Regions from separate parts of the Homo sapiens genome. Here region 2 is linked to region 1. The links are contacts of gene promoters, found by promoter capture Hi-C in human tissues and cell types (Jung and others, 2019). All regions are on one chromosome and are shown on one strand. Each heading gives the region's core, a stretch centred on a gene start or on the middle of the fragment in contact. The rest is flanking DNA. Distances are from core to core; before and after follow the strand shown. Region 1 holds the start of HECW2 (HECT, C2 and WW domain containing E3 ubiquitin protein ligase 2). Region 2 has its middle 8.9 kb from the start of DNAH7.

The links. The method cuts DNA at HindIII sites, captures the fragments that hold promoters and counts their contacts. A contact is called where the count stands out against the background at its distance.
Region 2: a contact is called between a fragment that was not itself captured here and the fragment with the promoter of HECW2 in region 1, in 1 of the 25 tissues and cell types used here (IMR-90 fibroblasts).

Annotation. Positions count from the first base shown.
Region 1 is chr2:196,591,700-196,596,158 of GRCh38, forward strand. HECW2 (HECT, C2 and WW domain containing E3 ubiquitin protein ligase 2) reads right to left here and starts at 1,855. Exons shown (of 29, transcript NM_001348768.2): 1 at 1,809-1,855. RefSeq lists silencers at 1,084-1,463, 1,544-1,813. The HindIII fragment of the contact is 8,801 bases long and covers 1-4,459 here.
Region 2 is chr2:196,075,592-196,079,843 of GRCh38, forward strand. No RefSeq gene overlaps it. Among named protein-coding and RNA genes, the nearest start is that of DNAH7, 8.9 kb to the left of the region's middle. The HindIII fragment of the contact is 5,218 bases long and covers 394-4,252 here.

The sequences.
Region 1 (4,459 bases), core at 605-3,104:
TGCCTGGCTTCTCTAGTCTGCTAGGGATGCCATCTGTCTCCCACGCTATATAAACAATCCCCGCAGGAATCTTCTGATGACCAAACAGATTAGCAAACTCCAGATTTTCACGCCATTAATAATATCCCCATCCAGATTAGGCCTTTTATTTTAATAACTCCAAAGATAAAGTCAATAACTGATCTTTCTTTCTTTGTAGATAATGTGTGTGTCATTTTAAAGATAACCTCTTGGAACATACAGCCATCTGTTGGGAAGAGAAAGAAAAAAAGCTCTCTCAAAGCAACAGAAGAAATGAACCCTCGAGGGAATAGGAGAAATAGTAAAAAGAAAATCATATTTATAAGACAAACACATGGAGAGCTCTACTAATTACACTAAAATATTCTTCTTCTAAATGACAAACTATAGAACACTACTCCAGAAAAGACAAGTTTCACACTTTCACAAAGGTATATATATACGAAAACAGTTTGCGTGAGTCTAGGACAGTGAAAGCAGAAATCATAACCCAAAAGCTAAAGGCCCCCGAAGTTTGCATGCTGTCCACCTCTATCTGTAATGATCACAAATGTTTTCCTTCCTGAAGTTTAATATCGATTGAACCCTTGTAACTCTAATTGTGAGCTCTCTGTACTGACTCCAAAGACTTCTAACTCTAAAAGAAATGTGCCTGTAAAGATGTTCTCTAAATTAATAATAATAAACGACGAAAAGCACCCGAGCGCTGCTAATAGTGAAGACAAGGCATGAGAGAGTCAGACCTCTGCAGTCTCGCGTCCTCGGAAACGTCTACGTCTAAATCTGCAGCCCCAGTTTGCTCCAGGCCCCAAGCTCCAGCAGAGGATGTTCACGGCACATTCCCAACCAAAAAGGAAATGAAGCGTCCTCTCCCTCAACTGATGCTCAAATAGACCCCAAAGTCCCAGTTTCCCTGGAGAACCAAACCATCCAACACATCCTGGGCAGCGGAAACCGAAATGGCAAATGAATGACCGCGCCGGGGCGCAAGGGAGGAAAAACAAAGCCACCTCCCGCCGTCCGCTACCTGCGGCGAGGGCCGCGCGCTCACCTGGGCTTTGCGCCCGTCGCCACAAGCTGCGGGTGGGGACCCGGCCGCGGGGCGGGAGGGCGCCCCCAAAGTCGCCCGGACCCGCGGCCCCGGCGCCCTGCGGCCGGTCCGTGCGCGCCGAGGAGAAAGCAGGCGGCCGGGGGCGCCGCCGCGCGTTGCATGCAGCTCACGGCTGCTGCGGCCGCTGCCACGGAGCCGAGAGTCTCTGCGCTGCAGTCCCCGACCCCGAGACCGCGAGAAGCGCCCGGAGAGACGCGGCGCAGGGGCAGAGCGCGCTCGGCGCGCCCCTCAGCGGCTCTTCCCGCCGCCCTCCGCAGCGGGCTGGGTCTCGGCTCGCCTTTGTGCTGGCATCTTCCTAGCTCCCAGCGACACCCAGAGCTCTCGAGGCGGCTCCGCGCCGCCACCCACCCCCGGGTTACGCCACGGCCCCCGCGCGACCCGCCGATTGTGTCGAGTCAGCAGCGGCAGCGGGGACGCGCGAAGCCATGGCTCCCGCCCGCGCTCGGGAGGGCGCCGGGGGTCCTGCGCCTCCGGGAGGTTTGTGGCCGAGCGCGGCGCGGCCCCGAGCGGCCCCGCAGCGCCCGGCTCCCCGCCGCTCGCTCTCCAGGCGCCGACCCGCCTGCGTCGCCACCCTCTCGCCGCTCCCTGCCGCCACCTTCCTCCCGCCCGGGTGCCGGGCGTCCGCTCCAGCCGCGGTGCCCCGGTCCGCGGAGAGCGAAGAGTCCGGCCTCCTCACCTCCAGCCGCGCCGGCGCCCTTCCCGCTAGACGCTTCGGCGGCATCTGCCCGCACCGCCCTGCGGGACGCTGGGCTGGGAGCTGGCGGCACGTCGGGGACCGGTGGAAGGGAGGCGGGGGCAGAGGACAGGAGGGACAGCCAGACCTTGGCCAGCGGGACCTCCCTGAGGAAGGTGCGGAAGAACGGGGCGGGTGCGGCTGGGCGGAGGACGAGTCCCGAGGCTGCGGCGGAGCCTGAGTTGCTCTCCTTCTGCGAAGTCGAAGGACAGGAGGATTCCTAGAGGTGTCGCGGAGGGTGGAGGAGACCCTCTGAGGTCGTGCAGACAACACTGTTCCTCAACCCCACCAGAAAGCTGAATAGGGGAGTGTCATGCCTCGGTTTCCCCAACTGCAAGGGCAAGACGGTAATACTCATGTCGCACACACAGGGTGTGGTCACGATGAAAAAATGGATTATTGAAAGCGTTCCCAGATACTTTGCCTAAAGAGGGCACTAAAATTTAAAATTACTGTATTAATACTTTCGGCTTTCTGTTTACTTCTATAGCATCTTCATCAACCAGTCCCACGTAGGAGAAAAAGTAAAAATGCTAAAGTGTAAATATATTGTGTCCCTCCCCACCCACCCTTGCATCTGTCCAGATTTAGGGAAGATTTATTCAATTTTACAATTTAACTATATCCATATGGAGTAAGTCCCCAAATAATGGATAGCCATTCCTTTGGGACTTTTGAGTGTGTGCTCAATATTATCCATTTCTCCGCCTTTTCTGGTAACAGCAGTTCATTATTCCTATGGGAACTGCCCTTCCCCCTCACCCACAATGAGTCTTTGTGGCTCCAGGGTACTGACACCTCCCACCCTCAACCCCCAGAACTAGCCAGTCATCTTCCGGACCGCAGTGATCGGTTCTGGGTTGGGCATGTTGATCCAGGAACTCGGCCTAGGGCTTTGGATGTATTACTGCAGAAAAATAAGCTCTTTAAACTAGGATAACTAAATTGGAAGGATATAAGCCTACGGTAACAAGGACCAACAGTGCATGCCAATGAAGCCAACTTTGAGGGAAGAAAAGCTGCTGGTGAGAGGGTGATGTCCCACCCTCTCAGGAACCTCAGGAGGTAGATGTGTCTGCAGTGAACTCTACCCTTGAAGCCAATAAATCCTCTCTCTTTTATTTCAAGTCAGTGTCAGCTGTGTTTTGTCACATGTCTCAGAGGAGCCCTGACTTCTTAGTCCCCTGGATCTATCAGCCCAGGCATCACTGTTAGGATCCTCCACAGAATCAAAGAGCCCCACCCCACAAAAGGCCCAATTCCAGTTCTTGCTGGAAGAACAGGGATCCTAGAGGTTTGTTCCCACATGATGTTCTCCTTCACAACTTACTCAAATCCAGCAACCCCACACCTGCAATCCTTAGCTTCTTTGTGTTGATTAACCACTATGTTACATTCTAGTCAAAATGGGCCAGGTGCAGTGGCTCACACCTGTAATCATGCCTGAGGCAGGAGGATCTCTTGAAGCCAGGAGTTTAAGACCAATCTGGGCAACATAGTGAGACCCCACTAACACAGGAACAGAAAACCAAACACTGCGTTTTCTCACTCATAAGTGGGAGCTGAACAATGAGAACACATGAACACAGGGAGGAGAACATCACATCAGGGAGGAGGGGCCTATCGGGGGTTGTGGGGCTAGGGGAGGGATCTCATTAGGAGAAATACCTAATGTAGATGATGGGTTGATGGGTGCAGCAAACCACCATGGCACGTGTATACCTATGTAACAAACCTCCACGTTCTGCACATATATCCCAGAACTTAAAGTATAATACATTAAATAAAGAAAGAAATAAAAATAAAAATAGCCAGGCATGGTGGCCTGAACCTGTAATCGCAGTTACTCTGGAGGCTGAGGCAGGAAGATCAGTTGAGCCCAGGATTTCAAGACTGCAATGAGCTGTGATTGCACCACTGCACTCCAGCTTGAAGACAGAGCAAGACCCTGTCACCTTGTCAAAAAAGAAGAGGAAGAGGAAGAAGAAGGAGGAGGAGGAGGAAAAAGAAAGAAAGAAAAGAAAAACAGAAAAAGAAAGAAAAGAAAAGAGGAGGAAGGGAGGAAGGGAGGAAAGGAGGGAGAAAGAAGAACCCTAAAAATGAATAGAGGCAAAGTGAATCACTATTGCTGCCCTAGGTCTTAAAAAACATTTTTCTCTCACTTTAAAAGCAGCCCCTACTACCTTTAAAACTTTCTACATATCGACCATTAAAACCGAGACTAAGGCATCAAAGAACATTAATAGCAAAGTCATCCTAAAAATCTCAAACTTGCAAAGGTGTGTAAAGATTAGGTAGGTTCTTTCACACTGCACTCCCCGTTCGTCATCACCACCACTCTCCTTCACAAGATCTCTGACCGGGTCTCACTTATCCTCTCCTGGAGCCATTCCCTTAAAGAGAACTCAGTACTTTACAAGCTGGTCAATTCTGCATTGAAACTGGCCTGACATTAGGAAGTGATCCCTTATATTGAGTTGAAATATTTCTTCCACCTGAGAGTACTCCAAGCACTGAAGACAAACTTGTGAACCACTTGAATTGTCTCTTTTCCAAGATCTTTGCATGACCCATAAGTCATGCAGGACACATGG
Region 2 (4,252 bases), core at 1,753-4,252, 510 kb before region 1:
ATAGGCCCGGGAAATACCAATGGTGGCTTAAACTAGAAGGAGGCAAAATTAGAAAGATGGAGAGAAGAGGACAAATCAGGGATATATTTTGGAAGAAAATCTGCTAGGACTTGCTAGAATAGATGTAAGGGATGATGATAAGGTAAAATTACTCCTAGGGTTATTTTTTTTTGCCTGAACCTCTTGGTGGATGGTTGTGCCTTAAAATGAGGAAGGCCAGGAAGCAGAAAGACATGTTGGAAGGTGAAAGAAAATTTAAAACTCATCTGGGTGTGTTGGCTCATGCCTGTAATCCCAGCACTTTGGGAGGCCTTGACCAGTGGATCACCTGAGGTCAGGAGTTCCAGACCAGCCTGGCCAACATGCTGCAAAAATTAGCTGAGTGTCATGGTGTAAGCCTGTAAATCCCAGCTACTTGGGAGGCTGAGGCATGAGAATCGCTTGAATCCAGGAGGCAGAGTTTGCAGTGAGCCGAGGTCGCCTCAGTGTACTCCAGCCTGTGCAACAGAGCAAGACTGTCAAAAAAAGGAAAGGAAAGGAGAGAGGAAGGGAGGCGAGGGGAGAAGGGAGGGAAAGGGGGAGGGGGAAAGGAAGTGGAAAGAAGGGAAGGAAGGAAGGAAATTAAATTTAAAATTCAGTTTTTTTTAGTGGTGATTTCTGAGATTTTAGTACACCTGTCACCTAAGAAATGTACACTGTACCCAATATGTAGTCTTTTATCCTTCACCCCCTCCCACCTTGAGTCCCCAAAGTCCATTATATCATTCTTATGCCTTTGTGTCCTCATAGCTCAGGTCCCACTTATAAGTGACAACATACAGTATTTGGTTTTCCATTCCTGAGTTACTTCACTTAGAATAATGGCCTCCAGACCCATCCAAGTTGCTGCAAAAGACATTATTTTATTCCTTTTTTATGGCTGAGTAGCACTCATGGTGTATATATACCACATCTTCTTTATCCACTCATTGGTTGATAGGTACTTATGTTGGTTCCATATTATTGCAACTGTGAATTGTACTGCTATAAACATGGGTGTGCATGTGTCTTTTTTATATAATGACTTTTTTTCCTTTGGGTAGATACCCAGTAGTGGGATTGCTAGATGGAATGGTAGTTCTGTTACCAGGGATGCTGCCTTGGGATGGATCCTTTAACCGAGATCAACAGAGCTGGAGCTCTGGACCAGCAATCTCAGTTCTTGTGATAGTGAGCAAAGAAATGCAAACTAACAGCAAAGTGCAAGCTCAAAGCAAAGTTCATTAAGGCACAGTAATACACTCTCAAAGGGAGAGTGGGCCAACTTCTACGAAGTGAAATCAGCCACTCTTTGCAGAGCTCAGGATGCTTTTATGGGAGGAGTTGAGGCCTGGGCTGTGTTTGAGTGACAGGATGATGTCATTTGATTGGCAGTTTATAGTTACATAGCTGAAGTTAAACTGAGCATGTTTTTACCGATCTTTCGTTAAGAAAAGCCCACTCAGAGGGGCAAAACCACAAGTAAATTTTACTATAATGACTGTATAATAAGGATGGGGTTCCCCAGGGTTATGGCCTAGATCAAGCTTGTCCAAATGTGGCCCAGGACAGCTTTGAATGTGGCCCAACACAAATTTGTAAGCTTTATTAAAACATTATGAGATTTTTTGCAATTTTTCTCTTTTTTCTTTTTTTTTGCTCATCAGCTATTGTTAGTGTTAGTGTATTTTATGCATGGCCCAAGATGATTCTTTCAATGTGGCCCAGGGAAGCCAAAAGCTTGGAAAACCCCTGGCCTAGATGGACGGGGCATGTGTCACATTAGGAAATTTTTATCTGTGCCCCAGTTTTTCTTTCCCCAGGATGTGCTGGCCACAGACTTTATCACAAATTCTGTCCATTAGGGTGGAGCTATGGTGATTTGGGGGCTGAATTTAGGTGGGCCAGGGCCTGTCTTAGTGACAGCCCTTCTGCTTTCTTCTCTCACCCCCTCCGAGCTGCTAATGTCTACCTAACTACCTAACAGCTCTACTTTTAGCTCTTTAAGGAATCTCCATACTGTTTTCCATAATGGTTGTACTAATTTACATTCCCACAAGCAGTGTAAAACTGTTCCCTTTTCACCACATCCACACCAACATCTATTGTTTTTTGACTTTTTAATTATGGCCATTCTTGTAGGAGTAAGGTGGTATCTCATTGTGGTTTTAATTTGCATTTCCCTGATGGTTAGGGATGTGGAGCATTTTTTCACATGTTTATTGGCTGTATCTCTTCTTTTGAGAACTGTCTATTCATATTCTTTGCCCACTTTTTGGTGGGATTATTTCTTAAAAACTCAGTTTTAAGCATGTTAAGTTTCAGTTGCCTAGTAGGCATCCAGTTGAGATGCTGAAGAGGCAGGAAACCATCCTGGTCTGGGTGCAGCTCCTGTCAGGGTATAGATTCAAAGTTCATCTAAATATAGACGGTCATTGAAGTCATGAGATTAGATGAGATCATCAAACGAGATAGAATAAATAAAAAAAAGAAAGAAAGATGGTTTAAGGACCAAGCCCTGGGGGCTGTTGTTTTCTCTTTCTGGAAACTTGAAATTTAAAAATAACATATTTTGTCAACATATTTTATCATATTTTATCAAAGAATTATGCAAGCACAAAGTTAGAGTTATAATAGATAACTGAGATATAAAAGAACCCTACAAAATGTGGTTGACAGTTCATGCGTGTGGTATTTGTTTGTGAAAACCCTGAGCTATGTATGGACCAATTCCCATGAAAACAAATAATGATGTTGCTTTATTACCACACATTGACCTTCAGCTAATCACAACCAGACCTGAAAAACACAAATGATTGCATTAGTTTCTTTGAACACTAGAGGGAGATAAAGTCACCTGTAAATCAGGAAAATAGAAAAATCCTTTTTTCCTACAGAACTACTCTTACCACAGAATCATAGAATATTTTAAAGTTTGATTATTTTTACAATCATCAAGAAATACAGTCATGTATTATAAAACTGGAACAAGCCAGGCACGGTGGGTCACTCCTGTAATCCCAGCACTTTGGGAGGCCAAGGCGGGCAGATCACCTGAGCTCAGGAGTTGGAGACCAGCCTGGGCAACATGGTGAGATCCTGTCTCTACAAAAAATACAAAACTTAGCCAGGCATGGTGGCAAGCACCTGTAGTCTCAGCTACTGGGAGGCTGGGGTGGGAAGATTGCTTAGGCTCAGGAGATTGAGGCTGTAGGCTGTAGTGAGCTGTGATCATGCCACTGCACTCCAGCCTGGGCAACCGAAGGAGACCCTGTCTCCAAAACAAAAAACACTGGAACAAATTACATATGTTTAGAAAGTAGCCTGACATATTTTTTAAATCAGGTTTTGCTAAAAGGCTTTTATATATGCTAATAATGTACTATATTTTCAGGTGATACCTTAGTCATTTTTCCCTTGGGCAATGCAAAGCAACAACATATAAACCAGCTAATTTTTATTTGAAGAAACAACTCTTCCTCCCTTGGAATTCCAGTAATAGGCTTACTGTAAGTCAAGTGTCCAAAGAATTGCCTCTCAACCTTATGTCTGTGGACTTTGAGAATGTGCTGTACTTCATCACGTTCCATGTTTTTCAGGTGGCTTAAAGGTCATGGGCACAGAGTTCATTCTGGACTTTTTATTTGCCCAATAAAATGCTTTTTGACTTTGCTAAGTAATCACATAGATATGTAGTGTTTTCATGATTGCTTGGGGCAACTAGAAAACTTTCTCTTTATTTACTTTGGTAATCTTTCTTAAAACATGCTAAAAAAAAAAAAAAAAGTCCTTTTTTCCAATCAAAGATTGAGTGTGAGCCCTATCCAACTGTTCCTACCCTACCGAATACTTTATTTGACCTTGTAACTAGCTTAATAAGTTCTCTTTTCCATAACCTCAACACTAAAGTGCTTCTGATAATTAAAGAGAAAAAAATATATTTTCTATCTCTAGGGGAGGATTATGGTGTAGGAAAAGAGACTGTTTTCTGGAATTAGAGTTGGTATAAATCCTGACTTTGTCTCTACTGGTTGGTGAAAGTGAAGAAGTTACTTTGCATCTGTAAACGACCATTTTCTTTTCTCTAAATTGGAATTGCAACCTTTTAGAATTGTTGTGAGCATTAATTCAGAGAATTATGAAAAGCAGCTAGCTTAGTTCCTAGCACAAAGCAGATATTCCAACTTCCCTGTGCCTTCCTCTTTCCTTCTATCTGAAATGCTTTATATTTTAA